Regions from separate parts of the Homo sapiens genome. Here regions 2, 3, 4, 5, 6 and 7 are each linked to region 1. The links are contacts of gene promoters, found by promoter capture Hi-C in blood cells and fetal thymus (Javierre and others, 2016). All regions are on one chromosome and are shown on one strand. Each heading gives the region's core, a stretch centred on a gene start or on the middle of the fragment in contact. The rest is flanking DNA. Distances are from core to core; before and after follow the strand shown.

What was found. Contacts are between HindIII fragments. The CHiCAGO score rates a contact against its expected background, and 5 or more counts as called.
Region 2: a contact is called between the fragment with the promoter of ING4 here and the fragment with the promoter of C1RL-AS1 in region 1, in 8 of 17 cell types (non-activated CD4 T cells, naive CD4 T cells, activated CD4 T cells and 5 more). The highest score is 11.8, in non-activated CD4 T cells.
Region 3: the fragment with the promoter of CD4 here is called in contact with the fragment with the promoter of C1RL-AS1 in region 1 in 10 of 17 cell types (activated CD4 T cells, non-activated CD4 T cells, naive CD4 T cells and 7 more); the score reaches 14.1 in activated CD4 T cells.
Region 4: a contact is called between the fragment with the promoter of CHD4 here and the fragment with the promoter of C1RL-AS1 in region 1, in 5 of 17 cell types (naive CD4 T cells, activated CD4 T cells, total CD4 T cells and 2 more). The highest score is 12.8, in naive CD4 T cells.
Region 5: a fragment that was not itself captured here is called in contact with the fragment with the promoter of C1RL-AS1 in region 1 in 2 of 17 cell types (naive B cells and activated CD4 T cells); the score reaches 6.0 in naive B cells.
Region 6: the fragment with the promoter of COPS7A here is called in contact with the fragment with the promoter of C1RL-AS1 in region 1 in 14 of 17 cell types (non-activated CD4 T cells, naive CD4 T cells, activated CD4 T cells and 11 more); the score reaches 18.8 in non-activated CD4 T cells.
Region 7: a contact is called between the fragment with the promoter of ZNF384 here and the fragment with the promoter of C1RL-AS1 in region 1, in 5 of 17 cell types (non-activated CD4 T cells, naive CD4 T cells, activated CD4 T cells and 2 more). The highest score is 10.3, in non-activated CD4 T cells.

Annotation. Positions count from the first base shown.
Region 1 is chr12:7,106,430-7,109,865 of GRCh38, reverse strand. It overlaps C1RL-AS1 (C1RL antisense RNA 1), which reads right to left and starts at 1,558. Exons shown (of 12, transcript NR_026947.1): 1 at 1,385-1,558; 2 at 919-1,193. C1RL (complement C1r subcomponent like) reads left to right here and starts at 652. Exons shown (of 6, transcript NM_016546.4): 1 at 652-756; 2 at 1,387-1,615. The coding sequence starts at 686. RefSeq lists enhancers at 711-790, 1,431-1,600, 433-1,632. The HindIII fragment of the contact is 2,026 bases long and covers 95-2,120 here.
Region 2 is chr12:6,661,751-6,665,050 of GRCh38, reverse strand. It overlaps ING4 (inhibitor of growth family member 4), which reads left to right and starts at 1,932. Exons shown (of 8, transcript NM_016162.4): 1 at 1,932-1,986. The coding sequence starts at 1,950. RefSeq lists an enhancer at 1,902-1,961. The HindIII fragment of the contact is 5,227 bases long and covers 1-2,818 here.
Region 3 is chr12:6,788,180-6,791,799 of GRCh38, reverse strand. CD4 (CD4 molecule) reads right to left here and starts at 2,272. Exons shown (of 10, transcript NM_000616.5): 1 at 2,138-2,272. RefSeq lists enhancers at 2,366-2,415, 2,231-2,788. The HindIII fragment of the contact is 6,468 bases long and covers 1-3,620 here.
Region 4 is chr12:6,605,870-6,609,424 of GRCh38, reverse strand. CHD4 (chromodomain helicase DNA binding protein 4) reads left to right here and starts at 2,046. Exons shown (of 40, transcript NM_001273.5): 1 at 2,046-2,125; 2 at 2,974-3,151. The coding sequence starts at 3,052. It overlaps LOC124902867 (a long non-coding RNA gene), which reads right to left and starts at 3,539. Exons shown (of 2, transcript XR_007063193.1): 1 at 3,430-3,539; 2 at 115-310. RefSeq lists enhancers at 1,426-1,575, 3,316-3,475 and silencers at 2,166-2,265, 2,676-2,735, 2,916-2,965. The HindIII fragment of the contact is 30,599 bases long and covers 1-3,555 here.
Region 5 is chr12:6,760,643-6,763,903 of GRCh38, reverse strand. No RefSeq gene overlaps it. Among named protein-coding and RNA genes, the nearest start is that of PTMS, 4.1 kb to the left of the region's middle. The HindIII fragment of the contact is 5,304 bases long and covers 1-3,261 here.
Region 6 is chr12:6,722,230-6,725,572 of GRCh38, reverse strand. It overlaps COPS7A (COP9 signalosome subunit 7A), which reads right to left and starts at 1,527. Exons shown (of 8, transcript NM_001164094.2): 1 at 1,394-1,527; 2 at 755-959. The coding sequence starts at 916. RefSeq lists enhancers at 873-1,092, 1,223-1,362, 1,393-1,602. The HindIII fragment of the contact is 1,412 bases long and covers 1,430-2,841 here.
Region 7 is chr12:6,688,014-6,691,505 of GRCh38, reverse strand. ZNF384 (zinc finger protein 384) reads left to right here and starts at 2,131. Exons shown (of 12, transcript NM_001385745.1): 1 at 2,131-2,408; 2 at 3,280-3,339. RefSeq lists silencers at 2,013-2,092, 2,173-2,282 and an enhancer at 1,653-2,279. The HindIII fragment of the contact is 17,984 bases long and covers 1-3,492 here.

The sequences.
Region 1 (3,436 bases), core at 309-2,808:
GAGCCTTCTGGCCTCCTACCAAGCTGTGGGTGAGTGTCCTTCCTCGGGGAGCGGTGAGAGCAGGCAGGGGCTCTAGTATCTGCCTAAAGAAGCTTGAGTGACGGCTTGAGTGATGACTGGGACTAGGGACTGAGGGACACCTGGGCTCGACCCCAGCCCTGACCATGCTGGACAAGCAGCCTCCAGAGGTTGTGAATAGGATTCAAAAGACCACCTAAGCGCATGTCCCCCACCCCTGCTTGGGGAGGAGGGAAAGGAAGAGAAAGCTCAAGTTCAAGGATCACAAACTTCAATTCTACAAGAGGGAGGCTCCCCGGGTATGTCGTGAACGGAAAGGTCGGGGAGGAAGAGACATGGCTGATTGAAGGCAGCAGCCATAACTCACAAGGAGCCATCCTACACACATGGCAAAAATTAATGTTAAATAGTACAAAAGGGTCGAGTCAGTGCCCTGCCACCCTGACCTCTGAGGGCCAGCGAGGTTTTTGGACGTTTCTCCCCTAAGCTGCGGCGGGCCCGCTGTTCCTGAGTCAGACGGCAGGTGGCGCTCAGCCCGGAGAATTGGAGAAGGGGAACTGTGGAGTTGCTTAACATTTCCAGGAACTTCCTCCTCCCCCACCGGCCTTCACCTTTTGTTCCCTATCCTGGGCCAGTTCTCTCGCAGGTCCCAGATGTCCAGTTCCAGATGCCTGGACCCAGAGTGTGGGGGAAATATCTCTGGAGAAGCCCTCACTCCAAAGGCTGTCCAGGCGCAATGTGAGTGTGGCCCCGGCAGAGGAGGAGGGAAGAGGACGGGAGGGGAAGAGAAAGGGTGGGTGGCCGCAAACCCTCCCTCCCCCCACCCTACCCCCCCCACACACACATCCCCCCCCCCCCCACACACACACACACACACACACCTCCCCCACATACACACACCAGCAGCAGCAGCAGCAGCAGCACAGCAGATATTCCATGGGGAGACTGAAATTTGCCTGTGGCCTCTAGCACCTTCCCAGAGGGTGGTCGGGGGATATTTACGGCAGACCCTCACTCGCCCCACCATTGCTCCCTCGGATCCCAGGGTGGGGTGGGATCTGCTGAAGCAGAAAGCACCCCCCTCCTTTGGACGAGACTCTCCTGGGAGATGAGCAAAGGTGATGTCTTCGGAGGATGGAAAACCCACAATCCTAGAGCTCAGGCTGCGCGGGAGGCTGTAGGGATTGGGGTGAGGAAGGGGAGCAAGGGAGGAGACGGGAAGTGCCCGGGCCTCAAGGGTGAGGCCACAGCTTCTAGCCCTGCCTCGCGAGGCCTCTGAGTCCTAGCGCGGCTCCCCCGCTCCTCCCACACCCACAGGCTTCCGGCCATAGCTGCGCGGCCCCACCTTGCCCTCCCCCCAACTCACAGGTGGTGGCTGCTTCTCTGGGGAGTCCTCCAGGCTTGCCCAACCCGGGGCTCCGTCCTCTTGGCCCAAGAGCTACCCCAGCAGCTGACATCCCCCGGGTACCCAGAGCCGTATGGCAAAGGCCAAGAGAGCAGCACGGACATCAAGGCTCCAGAGGGCTTTGCTGTGAGGCTCGTCTTCCAGGACTTCGACCTGGAGCCGTCCCAGGACTGTGCAGGGGACTCTGTCACAGTGAGCTGGGGATGGGGGGGGTCCCGCCAGGACTGTGGCCAGGGAGATTCCCGGGGTTGTGGGAAGTGGCGGTGCCCTGAATCCCCCATCTGGAGGAGGGATGAATTTTCCATGTAGGGGCAGTCGGGCTTGGCTTACCGGGGAGCAGTGGTGGACCCCAGGACACAGCCTCCCACCAGCGCCTCCGGGGCTGCCATCTGGGCCCCACAGAGCAAAGAGGGCAGCAAGCAGGCCCTGCGTTTGGAAGGCTTATGAATGGACACACAAATCTTGCAAATCTATGGAGCCAGGGGCAGGGACGCACATATTGGTTGTTAAAAATATGTCATCATGTATTTGTTGAGTGCCTGCTCTATCAGGTGAGGAAGCTGGACACAAATAATAACAAAAGATTAAGTCACCGTTCACACTTACCTTGGAAGAGCTATTACAAAACTTCTAACGCCAAAGCCTTATTCAGAATAAGGACATTTTAAAAACAGTACTTGATGGAGTGATGCAAGCTTGCAGTCCCAGCAGTATAGTCAGGAGACTGAGGCTGGAGGATCAGAGGGCTGGAGCCCAGGGTTCAAGGCCAGCCTAAGCAACATAGCAAGACCCCATCTCAAAAATAAGTAAATAATAAATAAAAATAAAAAGAGCACATTATCTTTTGATTTAAATTTTATTTATATCAAAATGACATAAATTTTTGAACTTTATTTTTTAATTTTAAAATTTTTAATTATTATGGATACATAATAGTTGTAAGACTTTTTGTTTTTTAATTAAAGTTTTCTAAGGCTGGGCGCAGTAGCTCATGTCTGTAGTCCCAGCACTTTGGGAGGCTGAGGCGAAAGAAGCACTTGAGCCCAGGAATTTGAGACCAGCCTGGGCAACATAGCAAGACCCCATCTCTACAAAAAAATTTAAAAATTAGCCAAGTGTGGTGGCACGCACCTGTGGTCCCAGCTACAAGGGACGCTGAAGTGAGAGGATCACTTGAGCCTGGAAGGTAGAGGCTGCAGTGAGCTCTGATCATGACACCGTACTCCAGCCTGGGTGACAGAGTGAGACCCTGTCTCCAAAAAAAAAAAAAGGTTTTTAAAAAGGTTTATGAATAACAGCAGTCTCCAAGCTGTTCCTCCCCGCCCCTGAGTGCTGCTCCTCAGGAGCAGTCATTTGCCAATTCATGTAGCTGTTTCATCTGGTCTTTAACTTCATATGTATAAATAACATGCTTATTTGTCTTTCATTTTTACGTATTTTCTATTAATGCTCAACTACAGTATAGAAGATAAGGACTAGCTTTATCTGTCTTCAGTCTTCACCACCCACATTTCCCCTCCTCATTCTGCCAGTTTACCTATATTATCATTTTTAGTTAAATCTTTATTCATTATTTACATTATTATGACTGTAAAATATTCACATCTGAGCACATAGCATAAAATAATTATATTTCTTTTCTTCTCCAACTTTTGGGTTTCCTAGGAGTCAATAGTTACATGGAGTTTTTTTGTTTTGTTTTGTTTTGTTTTTTGGTGGGGGGTGTTTGTTTTTGTTTTGCTTTTTAGTTTGCTTAGTTGTCTCTGTAACTAATCTCACCAGACTCTTAACCAGGAGTGTAAATCTTCTTCTGAAATACTCAAGCATGAATTTCAGTCTATCGGTCCTCCTTTTAATTGGTGACATCCCTCCTGAAGATCTCTCGATTTATTTTCACAGCCTGAGTTCTTTGCTCTCTAAGCCGTCACACATTCTGGGAGTTCTCTTCTCCCTCTTTCTGGGGATTTCCTTTACCTGTGCTGAACCTGAATCCCATACCTTTCTCTTTTTTGG
Region 2 (3,300 bases), core at 683-3,182, 450 kb after region 1:
TATCACATATGACCAAATATGCCAATGTTTCTTAGCTCCCTGCATATTTACTGCTTTTTCCTCCCACTCTCACCAACTCTTGAAAAGGCCCTAATGGCCCTAACTTCATCACCAGTATTAGAACTAGAATCTACTCTTTTTATGGATACACTCACACTCACTTATTCCAACAACCCTATGAGGGAGGTAGTAGTCTCATTGTATAGTAAAACAGGCACAGAGATCAAGTTACCGAAAAGCATGACTTTTGTAATTAGAGCAGTTTCCCGGATTCTATTGCTGTATCTTACTACCTGCACACTAGTAAACCTGGGGTTTACAGGCTACAGATCCTTTCAGCTCTGATACCCCCACCACTCTACAGCCCCTGAACCCCCTCCTCCAGCCTGCTCTTACTGTCCAGATAATGTTTCAAATACATCCCTGCATCCATCTCGAAGCAAAACAAAGCAACTTCCAATCCGCCCCGGGTTGGAAGTTCCTCTTCTCCACATATTTGGTAGAAATTATATAGCTGAAAGTCTGTCTCTTTAAAAACTTGCCGTAAGACATTGGTAATTCTTATGAAGGATGTGTGAGGGTACGAAAAGTGTGAGGGGTGGCAGCTATCTCTAAAATACTATCTTACTAACACCACTATTAGGTTATGGCCTTTGTGTTGGCAGTGTGTTGACAGCCTAGTGTGTTGGCAGCCTCTCATACCCTTGACTGCTTCCCATTCTGATGAAAACCATAGAAATCACTCTACCATAGCTGACTAGAGTGATGGCTAGCAACTAACTAGCCAACTAGCCCAGTAGTGATACTGCTGCATCCCTCAATCCCTTCAGAATTATGATGCTAACATCACATATAAACAAAAGGAAAACAAAAACACGAGATTTCCCCCTTAGAGAGTAGCAAGAGGGGCCAGGCACAGTGGTTCGCACCTGTAATCCCAGCACTTTGAGAGGCTGAGGTGGGCAGATCACCTGAGGTCGGAAGTTCGAGACCAGCCTCACCGACATGGAGAAACCCCATCTCTACTAAAAATACAAAATTAGTCTGGCGTGATGGTGCATACCTGTAATCCCAGCTACACGGGAGGCTGAGACAGAAGAATCACTTGAACCCGGGAGGTGGAGGTTGCGGTGAGCCATGATCACGCCATTGCACTCCAGCCTGGGCAATAAGAGTGAAAATTCTGTCTCAAAAAAAAAAAAAAAAAAGCAAGAGGGCAAGGCAGGAAGTAATATTTTATATGTGAAAGTGTATTCTAGTGTAACGTACAGGAGCTCTGACAAAAGATGTGCAGAATTATAGCTTTATTATGAGTCATTCTTTGTATTTATAAGTAGAAAGGTGATCATCTTTCTCAAGTTAAAAAAATAATGCTGGGGGAGATGGTGTTTGTGTGAGTGAATAGAAATTCAGACGGTTTAAATGTCTCAAGGCCTGATACTCTTCCCCAACTTCCTTAAGAAACTAACTGGCTTGAAAAAAGTCATTCTGCAAAAGAGGGAAAAAAAGTTGGATCTTCCAGTTGCTGAGAAGGTATGTTTACGCAATATGAGCCTAAAGTGAACAGTTACCCCTGCACGGATTACCATACATTCCCGTTTTGGAGGGAAAAAAGTTTGCTAGAGAATGCAAAATGGCGACCTCCAGTGACGTCATACCTGTCTCGGTCGCGTCCTGGGGTGTCTGTAAGGGCGGAAGCGGGCTACAGCCGCCTCACTGTGGGCGGTCGTGGCTACCATGCAAAAGGAAAAGTTTCAGTGTCGGGCGGATGTGTACCGGCGGTAATATAGTAAGGGCGGAAGTTCTCCTTTAAGGGCGGAAGTTCTCCTTTTAAGGGCGGAAGTTCTCCTTTTAAGGGCGGAAAGGCTTTAGCCGCAAAATGGCTTCGGCCCCTGTCGCGTTACAGTCACTTCCGGGGCGGATCGGAAGTTGCTTTGTTTTGCTTCGAGATGGCTGCGGGGATGTATTTGGAACATTATCTGGACAGTAAGAGCAGGCTGGAGGTGGGGGTCGGGGCTGCAGAGTGGTGCGGGGATCAGGGATGAGAGGATCTGTAGCCCTTAAGTTCCAGTGACGAGAAGGTCACAATTATGAAGCGGTTCTGTGGCAGGAAATATTGGAGGGTGCGGAGAAAGAGGGGGCGGGGCAGCAGGATCGAGGCCCCGCTGATGGGTGTAGACGAGGGAGGGGTGCGGTGTGGGGGTTAGAGACGTGTCTTGAAGGGCTAGTGTGCATGGCCAGGAAGATAGTTGCTGCCCCCATTCTCCAGGGTCTCCAGCCTCGGTAGATTTTTTTCCCCATAGTCGTTCAGAATCGTTATCACACACTGCCATTTGGAGAAGCGGTAAAGACCTCTCCTCCACTCCATTCTTCCTCAAAAGTGGCTTCTCATGGGGTTGAGAGTGGTGGTGATGAGTGACCACTGTCAGATGATGAACTAGAACGCTTCTCTTCATGGAGTAAAGATCTAATTCCCATCAAATGAAAATCTGGTGTTTATGCGATTTATGTAAACCACCCCTGCAGAAAGCCTATTGCTCTGTGCGCTTACATTTGTTTTAGGGCCCGGAGTCATTTATTCAACAAATATTTATTGAGGTCCTGCTATGGGTCAGACATAATGGCAGGCACTAGGGATAGAAAAATGAGTAAGACAAGGCTCCTGCCCTCAAGAAGCTCACGATCTAGTAGGAAACAGATTCTGCAAATAATTATAAAACACTGTGACAAGTGAGATAATGGAAATACATTAAAAAGGACACTTGGTAGGCAACCCTGGAGAAAAGGGGGGTAATTACCTGGGGATGTAGGAAAAGCTTTACAGCGGAGGTGATGTTTGAATAGGGTCTTGAAGGTTATTTGCCAGTGAGGAGAGAAAAAAGGAATTCCAGGTTGGGGAAAGCATCCGCAAAGGTACTGTGATGGGTTTGTGGCAAGGTCAAGGGTGTTTGATATTTATGACTCAGAGGTCAGCGTATTTGATATTTATGAATCTAAGGTAAGAAATTGAGAAAGGAGACTGGAGAAAGAGGCTGAGGCTAGATTGGACAAGGTCTTTTAAGCCAAACGAAGAAGTTTGCATTTTAAAGTAGAGTATGATTTTTATAGAGGAAAATGACTAATATATGGTAAATTGGAGCATGATATTGTTGATAACAGAGATCAATTAGTGATAACATTCCAGGACAGAGATAAGAACCTGATTTTAGGGAGTTACAGAAGTATTTAGGAGTTAAATATGAAAGGACTGACTGAATGACTGAGTGGTTGAGAGAGAAGGAAGAATCTAAGGTGGCTTCT
Region 3 (3,620 bases), core at 1,023-3,522, 320 kb after region 1:
AGCAATCCTCCCACCTCAGCTTCCCAAGTAGCTGGAACCACAGGCACACACTACCATGCCCAGCTAACTTTTGTGGGGTTTGTAGAGATGGGGGTTTCACCATGTTGCCCAGGCTGGTCTCAAACTCCCAGGTTCAAGCCATCCTCCTGCCTCGGCCTCTCAAAGGGCTGGGATTACTGGTGTGGGCCACCACGCCCGGCCCATCACAGGTATTTCATTCAACAAACATTTATTGAGTGTCTAAAATGTGCAAGACTGGCCCAGTATGGTGGCTCACGTCTGTAATGCCAGCACTTTGGGAGGCCAAGGCGGGCGGATCATTTGAGGCCAGGAGTTTGAGGCCAGCCTGTCCAACATAGTGAAACCTGGTCTCTACTAAAAATACAAAAAGTAGCCGGGCGTGGTGTTGGGCTCCTGTAATCCCAGCTACTCAAGAGGCTGAGGCAGGAGAATCGCTTGAACCCAGGAGGTGGAGGCTGCAGTGAGTGGAGATCACGTCATTGCACTCCAGCCTGGGCAAGAGAGCGAGACTCCGTCTCAAAAATAATAATAAAAAATAAAACGTGCAAGACAATTGGTCTAGCCAATTGCCCTCAGCACCACCCCGCCATTACGGCCAGGGTCAGAGCCTAGGGCTGCCCCCAAGCTCTGTCTAGCACCAGTGGTGGGAGGAGTTTTTATCTAGATATAGACCTCTCCTATGTAAGTGCTCCCACATTGAAAGAGGGAAATCATCTCCCGAGTGTCTCTAACGCTGTCCTCAGGGGCTCTTTCATCTGACTTTGAGGGCGGCGGCCATTTTGTATCAGCCTACAGCATCTGATACAGCACAAGGAATTATTGGTCAAAATGTGAAGTAGCAGTGACTTCCCCCATCAGGCCCTGCTCTTAGCCTTGCCCCGATAAAAATGTCCACCACAAGAGCAGGGCATTCAGGAAGCACTATCCCACTCAGAGTGAAATCTTTGAATTATTGAGAACAGGGCCTTTCCGTTTTGAGGGATCAGAACGTACCCCAGGAAACCTCTCTCCCAGAAGAAGCCTATGAGGGGAAAGCAGAGGACACTGGGGATAGCACGGCTTCAAGGCCATGAGGTCTCAGGGGCTGGAAAGGTCTGAGGGCGGAAAGGCTGAGATGGCACAGGGCTTCCCTTCAGGAGGGACAGTGAGTCCTCACTCTCCCTCACACCCTGCCAGGCCCAGGAGGGGCTGCACATCCTTCTGTAACTCTCCCGGCCTCATGAGACCCCTACCACCAATTCTTTTCGAATCCGTTTCTTAAATGACATATTTATCTAAAGATATGTATCTGCAACTTTTAGGGCAATTCATACGCAAAAGCTCAGTTTCAACACTTTCTGAGAATTTTAGCTTTCCTATTTCATGAATCATTTTAAAGCTAACTAGAGTAGAAGTGCCTTTAGACATTGTTCAAAAATCTTAAAAGAGCAAAGAAGCAGACAAAAATTTAAAAATACACACAGAAACACAAAAGGTAGTTAAAAGAGACTATTACATAGATCATGCGACTTATGAAATGCTGCAAGTATGATATTTGGTGTCAATTTTTGGAGATTGTCCCGTTAAGGAAAATTGGTTTTGCAAGAATTTTCTCTAGACTAGATTCCACTTCTTTTGCTCTTTTTCTTGTTTTTATGTTTTTCCTCATCATTTCTTTTTTATAGGTTTCCTCCCACCTTATATTTATTTATTCTTTCTAATTTTTTCCCTCCCCTTCTTCACTCTTTTTCTCCTCTTTTCCCCTCTTCCAGTCTTCTCCCCTCAACTGCCCACGACTAGTTGCCTTCCACGCCTTTCCCAGCCTGGGATAGTCTCCAGTCTTCACTCCCTCTCTGATCTTGCTATTTAGGTCACTACTCCTCTAAGGAGCACCCATTGCTCTGGACACTGAGCTGTGCACGCTGGGGCTGCAGAGAGGAGTCTAGCACAGTCTCTGACCTCTGGAAGCTCACAGTTCCAGTGGGAAATCGCTGCTCATGACCAGTTCCAAGAGAAATGCAAGAGAAGGTGGCCAGAGCTGTGGGCAGACAACTGGGCAGAGCACATTCCTGTGCATCTGCCCCACGTTCCCCTCCCTCTCAGCTCCGGGGAAGGAAGCCGAGTCTGACCACCTTACCTCTGGGCTTGCGTCTTTCTTGCCCGCTGCTTCTCAAACAGGCGTATCTGTGTGAGGACTTGGAGCTCTGCAACCAGGAGCCCAGTGGGGAGGGTGCTTTGTTCCTTCTGCAGAGTCGTGCTTAAATGAAGAGAGACAGGAAGCCCGATGGCAAGGCTCCTCCACACCCTAGGCCTGGGCCGGCCCCAAACGTCACCAGCTGGAGCTGGGTTCCCCACCCCCCAGGCTCTCAGGGAACATGTCAAAGTGAAAATGCCAAAGTCAAGGGAAAAAGTTAAGCAGAATCAGGCTTAAATCAGGAGTCAAACTGTCACTGCCACTGTTAAGCGGCAAGAAAAAGATGGCAAGAAAGATTCCATTAGTGGTAGCGCCATGTCTGACCAGGCTGTGGGGAAAGAAGTGGGAGGCAGTTGGGGGCATATGGGAACAGCAGTGGTAAGCCCACAAACAGCTCCTTGCTCTGGGGCCCTGAGGGCATGTGTCCAGTGGGTGCCCCAGGGGTATCTGTGGAGGCTTTATAGGTGGCCCAGTGTGGAAGAGAGGGCGTGGGCTGAGCAGAGAATATCTGAGACACCAGGAGTGACTGTTAACCAGGCTCTGTTCCTCTAGGCGTCTCTGGCCAGGCCTCAGGTGCTTTCCTCTAGCCCGAATCTACCATGAACTCTCTATGTGAGTATCCGTCTGCCCATTGGACATCTCCACTGGGAAGCTCACCGGACATAGCAAACTCAACACACATCCCCAACTATGCATACCACCTGCATACTACCACCCTCCAAACCTGCTTCTCCAGGCTTCTCACTCAGTGAGGGGCTCACCATCCACCAACTTGCCCAAGCAAAATAAATTGGGTGTAATCTTTGACACCCCCTTCACCCAACTTCTCCCACGTATTTATTTACCAGTTCCTGTGGATGTTACCTTCTAAATGGCTCCAAAATCTACCCAAGTCACTCTGCACTACCACTACTGCCACCATGCCAATCCAAGATGCCAATATCATCCCTTGCTCGGACAACAGCTCCTGCCTCCTCACTGGTCGCCATTCTCCATACCACAGCCCAAGTGATCATTTAAAGATGCACATGTGAGTGTGCGTTTTCCAGTCTGAAAAAAGTGGGGCTGGGAGTGGTGGCTCATGCCTATAATCCCAGCATTTTAGGAGGCCGAGGTGGGGGGATCGCTTGAGCCCAGGAAGTTGAGGCTGCAGTGAACCGTGATTGCACCACTGCACTCTAGCCTGAGTGACAGAGTGAGAACCTGTCTTGAAAAGAAGAAAAGAAAAGAAAAGAAAAGAAAACTCTAGTTCAGCTTGCGACTCCAACAATTAACACAAGTACCCCTATTTGACAGCATTGTACTTCATCTGTAGCATATAGTACTGTGTGCTACTTCTCATTTCATGACACACCGTACTCAAGGGTTGAGATTTAATAAAATTAGTATTTACTGCTTCATTAAAGGCATTCTATATATATATATA
Region 4 (3,555 bases), core at 797-3,296, 500 kb after region 1:
GAAAAATCCCCTAGTAAGTAGGGAACAGATAGGAGATCATGTTGACTATGGTCTATACCCATAAATCCTTTAAGTATCATCTTCCAGCCTCTAGAAGGACCACGATAAATCTTATTGGGATATGTTCTCTCTTGGAACCAGTGGGATTTTATTTTCTGTAACAGGAAATTGGGAAACAGTGCTCAGCAGTTCTCCCTTGGCACCATTCTGTCGTGTATCATAGTTTGCTTGGTTGCTTATGCTTTTTGAAGGGAGGCCCCCTGGTCTTCCTTGATTCTCCATGGTGCGGAGCTCGGCCTTGCTAGGTACTCTGTCAACACAGGTTGAATGAACATGAGTAGTGGTGAGTAGCGGGAGGGCAGGCCTTCACTCTTGGTGTGTATAGAGCAGGAACCTGAGTTCACATCGTGATGGGATGTCCATCCCCAGGAATGGCCTGGGGGTGTTGGTGAAAGATCCCTGACCTGGGGATGTGGTGAGGGGGAGGATTGCTAGAATGTTGAGAGATAGTCTTTGGATGGGAGTTGGTAATTATTATGGGATGCTGTAGGGTGAATTAGACTTCATGTAAATGTTTCATCTGTCAGCTTGGTATTTTGGTTGGTTGGTGTTCCTCAAAACTTAGGAGCTGGAGGTAAGCATCTGGAAAATACCTAGATTTTGGTGGGACTGGGTGGGGCCCTAGGTGGGCTCCCAGCCCCCGAGTGTCTGGAAATGATGGTATGAGGGAAGCTGGGGTCCCAGACATCAGGAGGCTTTTTGCCAGGATACTACTTTGGCCCAGAAAGGGATTAAGGTGTGTGCAAGTGGGGGCGGGGACAAGGAAGCGTGGGTAGCCTGCCTGGCCCTCCCTGCTCTGGGTGTTAGAATAGACTGACAGCGCCTGGAGATGGGGGTGGGAAGAATATGAATATTATGGGATGCCTGGCTCGAAGGGTATAGGGGTGGTAGAGTGGAGATGAAGCATTATGGGATGTGACACTGGGTTGTGTTGGGAGTATTATGGTATGTTTGGTTGACCACGGGCTCCTTGCAATTATTATGGGATGTCAGGATGTGGGTAGGAGAGTAAAATTATTATGGGATAGCTTTCCAGTGTTAGAGGAAAAGAGATTAGATGTCCATCTGTGGGGCGACAGTAGGGCTGTTGATCATTATGGGTTATCTTTTTGATAGAGGAGGGGTACTTACTATAGGCTGTGGAGCTAGAAGAGGGAAGGCTGGGGGTGATGTGAGCCTCTAGACCCTGGCCTGCAGGGACTGAGGGCAGCTCTAGGGGGTTAGTTATTATGGGATGTCAGTATAGAAAGTGGGAGACTGATTATTACGGGATGTGTGTGGGAGGAGGCCGAGTGTCCGTTGTTGTAGTATGGGGGGGGGTGAGTTTCTGACTATTATGGGATATCAAACTGGGGGTGGATGAAGGATGGTTATTATGGGATGTCTGTGGGGGATGGGGCTGAATATTATGGGATATGAGGCATAAGTGCTGCGAGGGGTGCTTATTATGGGATGGCCATGGGGAGGGAGGGGTGATGAATTATTATGGGATGTTAGCATTAGGTCCAAGAGTGAAGAAGAAGTTGGCAAAGGATGTCTATTATGGGATGTCTAAGAGGGTTAGTTGCAAAAGGTCTGCAATATTTTGAGATGTCAGCAGTCTCTGGCATATGTGTATGAAATGTGGGGGGGCAGGGTGTGTGTGTGTTGTGTGTGTGTGTGTGTGTGTGTGTGTGTGTGTGTGTGTGTGTGTTGGGGGGGGGGGTGTCCGTGTGTATTATGGGATGGCCAGGAGGTGGGCGGTTGCCCAGGTGACGCGCGCGCGCCCGCTGCGAAGGGGGCGTGGCCAGTGGTTGCCTGAGCGACGAGGGGGCGGGGGTTGCCCGGGAGACCTGGGGAGGAGGGTGGCGGTAGTGGAAGGGGGGGGTTGGAGTTGGTTGAGGTTATTATGGGCTGTCCGTGGGGGGGCGGGGCCTGTGCGGTGGGATTTCCCGGCCGGTGTTTCAGGCCCTTTAAGAGGCGACGCTGGAGCCGGAGCCATTTTCCCCCCTTCGGCCGCGGCGAGGAGGAGCCGGAGCGGGAGTGACACCGAGCCGGACCCAGCGCGACCTGCGGCGGCTCCGGGGTGAGGAGAGCGCGGGGTTCCCAAAGAGACGCCCCTCACGGCCCTACCAGCCCCGAGGGTCATCCCGTCACCCGCCCCTTCCTCAGGCGTCTCCGGACCCGCGGACCGCCCCTTGCCCAGAGGAGCCGACCCTTCCTTTCCTGGCCCTGCAGGGCGCCCGGCCTCCTCCCCAGCCCCCGCCCTAACCCTGCCGGAGTCTTGCTCCCCGCGACCCCCCGCCTCCGGCTTGGTCTCCCACAATGCCCGGCGCCCACCCCCTCGCCCTTTGATCACTTGCCCCCCGGGACACGTGGCCCGGCCCCCTTCCCGGTGGGACGCTTTCGCCCCCCGCGTCCCTGCCTCCGGCCCCCCGCAGCGCCCGAGCCTCCACGCCCCCTCGTCCCCGCAGCTCTTGAGGAGAACCTGAGTTGTCCCAGAGGACAGCCTTTGGAGAGCTGCCCTGTCTGGGGACTGGCCCCTCCCCGGGCGCAGGGAGGCGCCCCCCCACCCCCAAGTGACCTTGTGTCCCCGAGCGCCTCGCCGCCTGCGGCCTCCCCTGGCCCCCCCGCGCCGCTGCCACTCGGACCCCCTCCCCCGTCACACCCCGCTCGGTCCAGCCCCGCGTCTCCCCTCCCCGCGCTTGCACCAGCCTGCCCTCGGAGGCGTCGCTCCCTCGCTCCGTGGGGGCGCCTGCCGGGGAGCCGGCTTCCGGGCTGCCCCCGAGGAGTGTGGAACTAAGTTCAGCCTGAGCGGTTCGGGTGCCCTGCTAGGGTGGCTGGGGTGGGGGGCGGAAAGAGCGGGTGGGTGTGGGGGAGGGGGACAGTGCGCGTCACTGACTGTTCTGTGTTTCTCCCCCCTCCCCCGCACAGTGACTCGGGCCAGTGTAGAGGTCCTCAGGCCGCCGGCAGGAGCAGCTGGGCCAATTCCCTGGCCGGGAGCGGAAGGGGATGGCGTCGGGCCTGGGCTCCCCGTCCCCCTGCTCGGCGGGCAGTGAGGAGGAGGATATGGATGCACTTTTGAACAACAGCCTGCCCCCACCCCACCCAGGTAACATCTTCCCCAAGGGCCCATGGCGGGAAGGAGACATCTGGGGCTCTCCCGAGTGACTCCTCTGGTGAGGCAGGGCTGTGTTGCTCCGCTGTCTCTGTGCAGAGCCGGAGGTGGAGGGTATCCGAAGGGAGTGGTTCCCTTCTGCGGAGCTCTGGTGTGAGGGGGGTGGAAGCCATGTGCCTCCTGGGCACGGAGATGCCAGCTTGCTGCACTCTGTCTTGAGGAATGCTCTGCAGTTCCCAGTTGAGGGAGCTCTCTGGGCTGGCAGGCATTACCTGGTATGTGGGTCCTCGGAGGAATGCAGGTAGCTGGGACCCCTGGAGGCTTGTGGTGGTGGTGGTGGAGGGGGGCGTTGAGGATTCTGTTTGAAAGACCAGCCGGGCATCTGTGCTAGTAGGATC
Region 5 (3,261 bases), core at 124-2,623, 350 kb after region 1:
ATGAAGCATCCTTTAGCCATCTCTCTCTGGTTGGACAACAAACCAGTCTTCTGAAGTCTTGGCTTCATGAGAAAGAAGCTGGAAGTGAGACTTGGGATGAATGTGGAGTGAGTGGGATCTGAAAGCCACCCGACAGTCCTAGGGGTTAGCCTCAGAGCCTCTGGGGCCAACGGTGCTAAATGGCCTGTGTTTGCTTTTCTCTGTGGAACTATTTCTGAGGCTTTGTGGAGGCTTGCCTATTCCTAGAATTACCTTACTCTACAGTCCAATTGAGAATTTCTCCCACTAGTTGAATGGGGGAAGCATGTGCTTCTTACACATTTTCTGAAAGCGGGAAAAAGGTGACCAGGTGAGAACAAGGAAGGTCTGAGCCCCCTGGAAACGATGACTTCTGGCCTGACATCCTAGAAATTTACCTTGATACCATGTGTGGGAAGTGTTCAATTCTAGTTATTTCCATCTCATTCTTGGTGAATTCTTCCCCCTCTCCAGCTTCCTGGATTTTTTCAGTGTGCCTATTTCTCCTGTTGGTTAAGGGGTAAGGAAGGCCTAGTTATCATTCAAGGCCTTGGAAGACAGAGACCTGAAAGTTGGGGGGGCTATCTCCACTCCTCGTTTTACTTTATCCCCATTCCATTCCCAGTGACCTCATTTTCTATCCCCCATTTACCCCATTTTCCTTTGCTTTTTTTATTTTCAATCTAAAACTTTTCAAAACGAAAGTCAGTGGAGAGTTGAGAGGAGATGGAGTCCTAGAGGAAGACCTAAATTAGCCTAACTTCGATCATGTTTTTTTATTATTGTTGTCTTGAGACAGAGTCTCACTCTGTCACCCAGGCTGCAGTGCAGTGGCACAATCTCCACTCACTACAACCTCTGCCTCCTGGGTTCAAGCAACTCTCATGCCTCAGCCTCCCAAGCAGCTGGGATTACAGGCATGTGCCACCACACCTGGATAATTTTGTATTTTCAGTAGAGACGGGGTTTCACTATGTTGGCCAAGCTGGTGTCGAACTCTTGACCTCAGGTGATCTGCCCACCTCGGCCTCCCAAAGTGCTGGGAGTACGGGCATGAGTCATCGCACCTGGCCGGATCATGATTGAGTGTGTTACCTCCATGGGTGTTAAAAATAAGGAGAGATGATCTTCCAGGCAACATTAAGGCACATCCATCATGCGTCCCGTCTCCGTGGGTACTCCTTTTCTGCAGTGCCTCCCTGATTCCTCCTGACTTTGCAGACCCGTATCCCTTTTTCCCATATGTTGTTCTCAACACCCAATCGCCTTCCTTGGTCTTCCACCCATACTAATGTCTCCTGTGGCATAGTATCTAACACCACACCAGGGACAAACAAGAAAGCTCAATAAACCATCTATTTCCTAGCCCAGTGGCACCATTTTGGACTCAATCTCACAGCTCTCTCAACCTTCTTCAAGGAAGCTGGGAAAACACACCATGCTGCCAGGATACTGGCTTCCCTCCGTCTGACTTGAGATCTTCCCAGTAACTACTGGGAAGATGTCCTGGTTGGAAGTCTCTTTTATGTTTTGAACATCACAACCAAAGTTTTTGTGGTTTTCCTACTTTTCTCCATGAAATTTCTCCCCAGTAAAAAAAGAATGGGTTTCACCTTTGTACCTCTCCTTCAGATTCTTTTTTTTTTTTTTTGGGACAGGGTCTCACTCTGTCACCCAGGCTGGAGCACAGTAGCACGATCTTAGCTCGCTGCAACCTCTGCCTCCAGGGGCTCAAGTGATCCTCCCACCTCAGCCTCAGTAGCTAGGACTGGAGACGCCCCACCACACCTGGCTAATTTTTTTATTTTTCATAGAGATCGGGTTTCACCATGTTGCTCAGACTGGTCTGGAACCCCTGGGCTCAAGCCATACACCCACCTCAGCCTCCATTATAGGCGTGAACCACCACGTGGGCCCTTCTTCAGAATCTTGATTGGCTTTTCTTATTCCCCCTGCCCTCCTTCGGGAATGCCTTTGCCTTTTTTTTTTTTTTTTCCGAGAGAGAGTCTTGCTCTATTCCCCAGGCTGGAGTGCAGTGGCGCAATCTCGGCTCACTGCAACCTCTGTCTCCCGGGTTCAAGTTCTCCTCCTGCCTCAGCCTCCTGAGTAGCTGGGATTACAGGCACCCGCCACTGCGCCCAGTTAATTTTTGTATTTTTAGTAGAGACAGGGTTTCACCATCTTGGCCCGGCTAGTCTAAAATTCCTGACCTCGTGATTCACCTGTGTTGGCCTCCCAAAGTGCTGGGATTACAGGTGTAAGCCACCGCACCCGGCCTCGCCTTTGCTTTTACACCTAGAATAGTTTGCTATTGCCTGACTCTCTCTGTCCTGCCTTCAATTTCTCCCCCACATTCACTCTTCAACATGTCTTCATGGGCCTTCAACAAAGTCCAGAAGGAAGGCAACATTTATGGGTGCCTTCCAGCTCTGTCCAACAAAACTTTCTGTGATGATGGAAATGTTCTTTATCTGCACTTTCCAACATAGTAGCCACTAGTCGTGTGGTTACTGAACACTTGAAAATGTGGCTAGCGCAACTGAGGAACTGAATTTTTTTACTTTTAATTAATTATTATTATTATTATTATTTTGTAGAGACAGAGTCTCACTCTGTCACCCAGGCTGGAGTGCTGGAATTCAGTGGCATGATCTCGGCTCACTGCAACCTCTGCCTCCCAAGTTCAAGCAATTCCCCTGCCTCAGCCTCCCAGGTAGCTGGGACTACAGGCACACGCCACCACACCTTGCTAATTTCTTTTGTATTTTAGTAGAGACGGGGTTTCACCATGTTGCCCAGGCTGGTCTCGAACTCCTGAGCTCAGGCAATCTGCCCACCTCGGCCTCCCAAAGTGCTAGGATTACAGGCATGAGCCACCGCGCACGGCCTTTTAATTAAACTTATTTATTTATTTATTTATTGAGACGGAGTCTCGCTCTATTGGCAGGCTGGAGTGCAGTGGCACGATCTCGGCTCATTGCAACCTCCATCTCCAGGATTCAAGCAATTATCCTGCCTCAGCCTCCCGAGTAGCTGGGACTACAGGTACGCGCCACCATGCCTGGCTAATTTTTGTATTTTTAGTAGAGATGAGGTTTCACCATGTTGGCCAGGAATGGTCTCGATCTCTTGACCTCGTGATCCGCCCACTTCGGCCTCCCAAAGTGCTGGGATTACAGGTGTGAGCCACCGCTACCGGCCATTAATTAAATTTAAATAGCCACATGTGGCTAGTGGCTATTT
Region 6 (3,343 bases), core at 278-2,777, 380 kb after region 1:
TGCTAATTTAACATGTTCACTCTCCACTTGTACCAGACTTCACACTTTCCCATAATCTCACTTTATTCCCACAACAGAGAGGGGCAGTATTGTCTCCATTTTTAAAAGAGAAAGTTGGCTAGGTGCGGTGGCTCAAGCCTGTAATCCCAGCACCTTGGGAGGTCAAGGCGGGCGGATCACGAGGTCAGGAGATCGAGATCATCCTGGCTAACACAGTGAAATCCCATCTCTACTAAAAATACAAAAAAGTTAGCCGGGCATGGTGGCGGGCGCCTGTAGTCCCAGCTACTGAGGAGGCTGAGGCAGGAGAATGGCGTGAACCCAGGAGGCAGAGCTTGCACTCAGCTGAGATCACGCCACTGCACTCCAGCCTGGGTGACAGAGCAAGACTCCGTCTCAAAAAAAAAAAAAAAAAGAGAAAGCTGAAGCCCTAAAACAAAAGTGACCTGATCAAGGTGACATGAGAATTAACAGCTACTACACTGGTGGAGACCGGCTGGAAATCAGGTTTCCTATTCTGAATAGGATGCTCTTTTGCTTAAAATGAAAAATAGTGGGCTTTACAGATCCCTTATCTCCAAAGGAGAGCTGGTTTGCTTGTTCACTGGTTACTTCTGCAAGTTGGCATTTAATTATCACTGTTTTCTTGTTCAACTGAATGGTTATTGGATCACAAAATGAGCCCTGCCCACCCATTCTCAAATTCAAACCTTTGCCCACGCTTCTCTGAGGGCTATTCAAGCCAGCAACCCACCTCTCTAACATTGGGCATGTCCAGCAGTTCTCCAAACACGTAGACACCAGGGGCCTCCAGCACCTGATGGATGAGTGTGGCCAGCGCTGCCCCCTTGGCCGACTTGGCTAGGAGCAGAAATTGCTCCTGGTTCTGCCCTGTCACCTTCACTTCCGCACTCATCACTGCACTGAGTGTGGGGGACTTGGGCTCAGGATGTCCAGAGCTGCAAGGAAAGAGGATGTGAAGCTAGAGGTCCCCGATGGCTGGTCGGATGGGAAGCACAAGGCTGAGGGACTGGATTGTAAAGGCACTAAGTCGGTTCTGCGGTGAGGAATCAGACATGGAGCGGTCTAAAATTCTGATCTAGGAATCCTAAAGTCAGCCACTTCGCAAGGCTGCCACACCCACCCCCTCCCCTGGGCCTAACCCCAAGCCCCATCACGTGCACCCCATTGAACCCCAAGACACAGGATGCAAAGGAGAAATGGGTGTCGCATGGTGTCCACCCTGACGACGCTCCCTCAGCTCTCCATTGCTGCCCCGCACGCGCCCACAACCACGTGACCTCACCCCCATTGAAGCTTACACGTGGCTCCGCCCCCTCCCTTAAAGACACCGCCCAGCGACCGTGGGCTCCCGCCGACTGCTTCGTCGTACCCTGGGTCAGGCTCTGCGGGCCGCTACCTGGAAGCTTCGACCTCCAGCGCACCGGGCGGGGCCGCCGCTCCGTCACCTCCGGCAGCTGTTCCAAGCCTTTCCTGCCACCTCCCTGAAGAGTCGCTCTGGCCACTAAACTCTATGGCGGGCTTCCGGCCGTACTTCCGCTCTAAGGACGCAAATTTCGGCAGGACATGCCCCACCCCCGCGTTCCGACCGCTGAAGCTCCAGTGAGGGACGCAGGCATTCTACTCTTCGATTGGTCGCTGGGGGAAGAATGACGGGCGCCTTTTTAAATGCTTTATTTCAATAAAACTTTATTAGTGGAAGAGCGCCAGCTATTAACTACAGACGTCTCTGGTGGGTCCCTGGTCCCGGCCCATTCTGTGTCTGTTCTAAGCCGCTGGAGAGCTGGAGATCAGGACTGCACTGGGTACCTGAGGCAAGAGAAAAGCTGTAACGGAAGGAGTGAAGAAGAGGGAAAAAAACGGGATGAGGAAACAAGGGGCAGAGAGGAAGCAAACAAAAATCAATAATAGAAGTTTAGCAGCAGAGATCACCTAGGTGGTTCAACCACTCACTTTTTTGAAGAGCAGGAGAAAAGAAGCGAGAAAAATAAAAGAGAGAATAAAGCTAACATGTATTGAGTGCTTACTATTGGTCAGACATCTTTTAAAATTTTATTCCGTTGAATCCTCACAAATATTCCCCTGTGACTTCAGGACACCCTCTACCATGATTACTACATATGTATTAATACTTGTAGAATGATGCTTTCAGTACATGGACTCTTAATTTCTTGGGGAGGAAAAAACCCTATGTGGTTCTCATTTTACAGAAAAGGAAATTGAGGCTCATAAAAATCCAAGGATTTATCTGGAGCTTTTCAAACTCAAAACCATCTTTCTACTTCAATATGATACTTTAATAAAAACAAAAACAACTAACATTTCTATAGTGTTTTATATTTCACAACAGGCTTGCAGAAGGTCAAGTGAGGGTAAAGTTAATGACATCTTGGCCTTTGTGTTAAGCCATGAGCATTACTTAATTCATCTGATACAACGATCTAGTAATTGTTATCTCCACTTTCCAGATGGAAAAACTGAACTCAGGAAAATTAAGAAACTTGTAAGTAATGGAAAGACAAGAAAGTGAAAAAGAGAAAGATAAAGAGAAATAGGACTCGTAGTCTGTTAGGGCTAAAGGAACTGCAGATGCAGTTTATGGTCCGCATATTTTGGTTTGTGATAGAAAATAAGCAGAAACACAGAAAGGAAAGAGAAAGGAGGAAGAGGAGAAGAAGAAATGAATGGAAAAGGTGAAACAAAAGTGAGTAGAAGGAATCAAAGGCATAATAAAATATTCAGAGTTTGAAGGAAGCAAGGAATTAATGAGTCCAAACATTATTATTATTATTTTGCATCCACCCCTCCCCGCCCCAAGCTTATCTTTTTTTTTTTTTTTTAATTTGAGACGGAGTCTCGCTCTGTCGCCCAGGCTGGAGTGCAGTGGCGCGATCTCGGCTCACTGCAAGCTTCGCCTCCCGGGTTCACGCCATTCTCTGGCCTCAGCCTCCCGAATAGCTGGGACTACAGGCGCCCGCCACTACGCCCGGCTAATTTTTGTATTTTTAGTAGAGACGGGGTTTCACCGTGTTAGCCAGGATGGTCTCGATCTCCTGACCTCGTGATCCGCCCGCCTCAGACTCCCAAAGTGCTGGGATTACAGGCGTAAACCACTGCGCCCGGCCAAGCTTATCATTTTTAGAGAGAAGGGAAAAACATGTAAGATGAAGGGATGAGAAAATAACCCGTATTTGTTCTATTTTGCGCCAAGTGCTTTATTTGTTCATTTTTTACTTTTTTTTTTTTTTTTTTTTTTTTTTTTTTAGAGGCATGGTTTCACTCTGTTGCCCAGGGTGGCGTGCAGTGATGCGATCACAGCTCA
Region 7 (3,492 bases), core at 882-3,381, 420 kb after region 1:
GCCCAGGCTGGAGTGCAATGGCGCAATCTTGGCTCACCACAACCTTCGCCTCCCAGGTTCAAGTGATTCTCCTGCCTCAACCTCCCAAGTAGCTGGGAAACTTCCTTCTTATAGCAAGGGCAGGAATAGGGCTGACGGAGACACGGAGACCCAGGAAGTGCCCAGTTAACATAAATAGGAAAAGAGCAGGAGGAGAACCAGAACGTATAGCTATTATTACTATTTCCTGTTCCCACCTTTCAATACCAGCCCCTGATGTCAAGGTTTCTTGAATCAGCAATCTCTAACCCACACAGCAATAGGTCTGGTCACATCTGAGCCCTTAAAATCCTTACTCTGCCAACTGTTGCTACTCAGTCAACAGAGACTGAGTGCTGAGCCCAAAAATGTGATAAAGGGAACAGACACTTTAAAAAAGATACAAACTACAATTACAATGAAATGCATCATCTATTTAAATATTTAAAGGCGTACTTTGTTACTTTCTTGCTTTGACCTTGGGGGAAAAAATCACTTAATCCTTTACAGGCTTATTTTCATTATCTGTAAAATGAGCATTATAATTATTTCTGTTAAAGTTATTTTTTGCTGGGCGTGGTGGCTCACGCCTGTAATCCCAGCACTTTGGGAGGCTGAGACAGGTGGATCAGTTGAGGTCAGGAGTTCGAGACCAGCCTGGCCAACATGGTGAAACCCCGACTCCACTAAAGATACAAAAAATTAGCCCGGTGTGGTGGCGGGCGACTGTCATCCCAGCTGCTAGGGAGGCTGAGGCAGGAGAATCGCTTGAACCCAGGAGGCAGAGGTTGCAGTGAGCCAAGATGGCGCCAATGCACTCCAGCCTGGGCAACAGGGTGACACTCTGTCTTTAAAAAAAAAAAAAAAAGGTTATTTTTCTCAGCAAGAGGCTCTTACCATTAGTAGGAGAGACCTCAGTTCTGCTTAGAGCTGAGCCCAGGGGGATTCTGGCCAGGTCGGGGTGCACGCTTGTAACAGCATTCACTTGTTCAAACAACATATTCAGCATTTACTATATGCTCAGCAAAGCAACGTATTTCCTTCCATGAGGAACTGACAATCTTGCTGGGGAATCACATGTATGAAATAGTTAAAATATCAATAAAAGGTACGTATTAAATACTATGGGAATTCAGAGGGACCATTACAGGTTGGAGCAATCAGGCAAGGCTTCCTAAAAGGGTTCATATTTAGGTGTTCATAATGAACTATAGTTCATTTATACAACAAGAGTTTACAGACCACTTAACTGCCAGGATATGAGGATACAGCAACGAACAATTCAGTCCTCGCTGTCCTGTAGCCAATATTTTAGTTGGGAGAGGTGGACAGCAAACAATAAATCAGGCAGTAATAAGTGCTATATTTAAGTAAAACAGGGTAAGGGGATAGAGATGTGGGTATGGGCAACAAGAAAAGACCAAAGTAAAGTAAGGGATGTGTCAGAGAGACAGATTTTGATGGCTGGGAGAGTTTCTAACTGGACCTAAGTAGGGACCTCCGAAAAACAAGGATACGTCCTAGTCCTTTCCCGCATATTCAAAGCATTGAGACATTCTTGGGGGTATCAGAAAAAATAATGGTAATTTCCTACATCAGCTTATTCAACATCCAGAGGGAAGAGAAACGGGGTCCCAGCATCTGAAGAACCCACACCTCCTCTCCTACCTTGATGGATAATTCATGAACCTGTCGCGTTTCCACCCCCCCACCTTCCCCAGATGTCCCTTCCGGAAGCTCAGGGCCGGAGTCCTCCGGTTTCAGCTTTTGCCCCTAGCGGAACCCGCCTTCACTTCCGCTATAGCGTCACATCCCCTCTTCCCAGTCGCTGGGCAGAAGCTATTTCCGCCCCGAGTTATCGTAACTTCTGCCCTGAATATCTCGCAGCGCTAGCGGCGCCGGAAGTGTTCCAGCCACTCCCGGAAGTGACTCGGCTTCTGCACGCCCCTCTTTCTCCATTAGCGCCCCCCCTACATTGCTATTTCCCTCCCTCCCCCCTTTTCGTTTCCGGCGCTCCCGCCTTCTCTCCGCAGAGCTCTTCTCTGAGCCTGTTGGGGGGAGGGAGGGGGGCGTGGAGGAACTGGGGTTCGCGGGAGCACGAGCTGCAGCACCACTTCCGGGTGAGTGCAAGGGGAGGGCAGCAAGGAGGGGGGGCCACCCACTACCTCGCGCCCCCGCCCTGCGGGTGTCTCGCGCGCGTTCCGTGCGTGTGAGTGTGTGGGTCTGTCTCGCTCCAGAAGTGCGTGCCCGCGCGCTGCGCCTTGCGCTTTTTCCCCTCCCTCGCCCCTTCCTGGTCCTCCCACCCTCCTCGGCTCCCTCCTTTCCCAGCAAACGCCGCCCCTCCCGCGCCCTGGCTCAGGCTCTGGCGCCGCCGCAGCCGTCGCCGCCCGGTGAGTCTCGCGCCGCTACAGCCGGCGCGCGCCAAGCTGCTTGCTCCTCCCCCCTCCCCTTTTCCTTGGGCAGGCGGGGAAGGGGGGGTCCACGATGTGACTGTGTGTGTGTCCGTCCCGGAACCGGAAGTGGTTGTGGAGGAGCGGGCGATGGGAAGGAATGGGGGGGTTTAGGGGGCGGGTGCCTGTCTGGTGGGTGGCAGAGTTCAGCTCCCTGGAGGGGAAGGAGGGACGTCCCAAGGAAGGGTCTTTGAGAAAGGGGTAGGGGACGACATCAGGAGAAGGCTCCCAGGAACTGTCTCAGGGGAGCGAAGGTTTTGAGGGGACAGCTGGGGTCTCCAGTAGATAGACCACGGTGCAGGCTGAGGGAGGTACTTCTTGGCACAAGGCCTCGGGTAGGCAGGGGGCGAAGTCCTCGAAGAAGTGGGGGGAAGGCTAGAGGAAGTGGCTGGGCCTGAACTGGCACTGTGCCTGCCACAAGGTCTTGTGCATCCCCCAGCCCTCAGCTTTGCCTTCTGAAGCCACTCCTCAGGGGCACAGACCCTCCTCCTCCTCCATCTCTAATGTTCTCTGACCCCTGGTTACCTGTGGCCTGGGAACGAACAAGGACCAGTCTCTGAGCCTAGGAGTGAAACCCAAACGCTGGTGATAGAATTCGTCTTAGTTTCTGGGAATTGGATTTATTTCTCTTGTATCCACGTAGAGGGTAGCACTAGACTGCTGTTATTATATCCACCCGTCTTTGGATTGCTGGCTGGGGGGTCTGCCTGCCTTCCAGACTGACTGCTGACAAATAATTCCTGAGGTTCTCCACAGTTCTCTGGTGGCTGCACCCTGCCTGGCCCCTGTAACCTAGACAATTTGTTTACAGAAAGTTCAGGAGCCCTGGAAAGGAGAAGGAATAAGACGGCAGGAGGAAGAGAGAGAGAGGGTAAGATGATTTTTGGGTTAATGGCTTTTCTGGTTTTGGGGGAGAAGGGGTCACAACCAAATGGGGCGTGTGTGTGTTTCACAATGTGATAGAATACTTAAAGTAATAGCAATTGTAATGCTGAGATTGTTGTGGAGAGAAATCAGTTTTTTT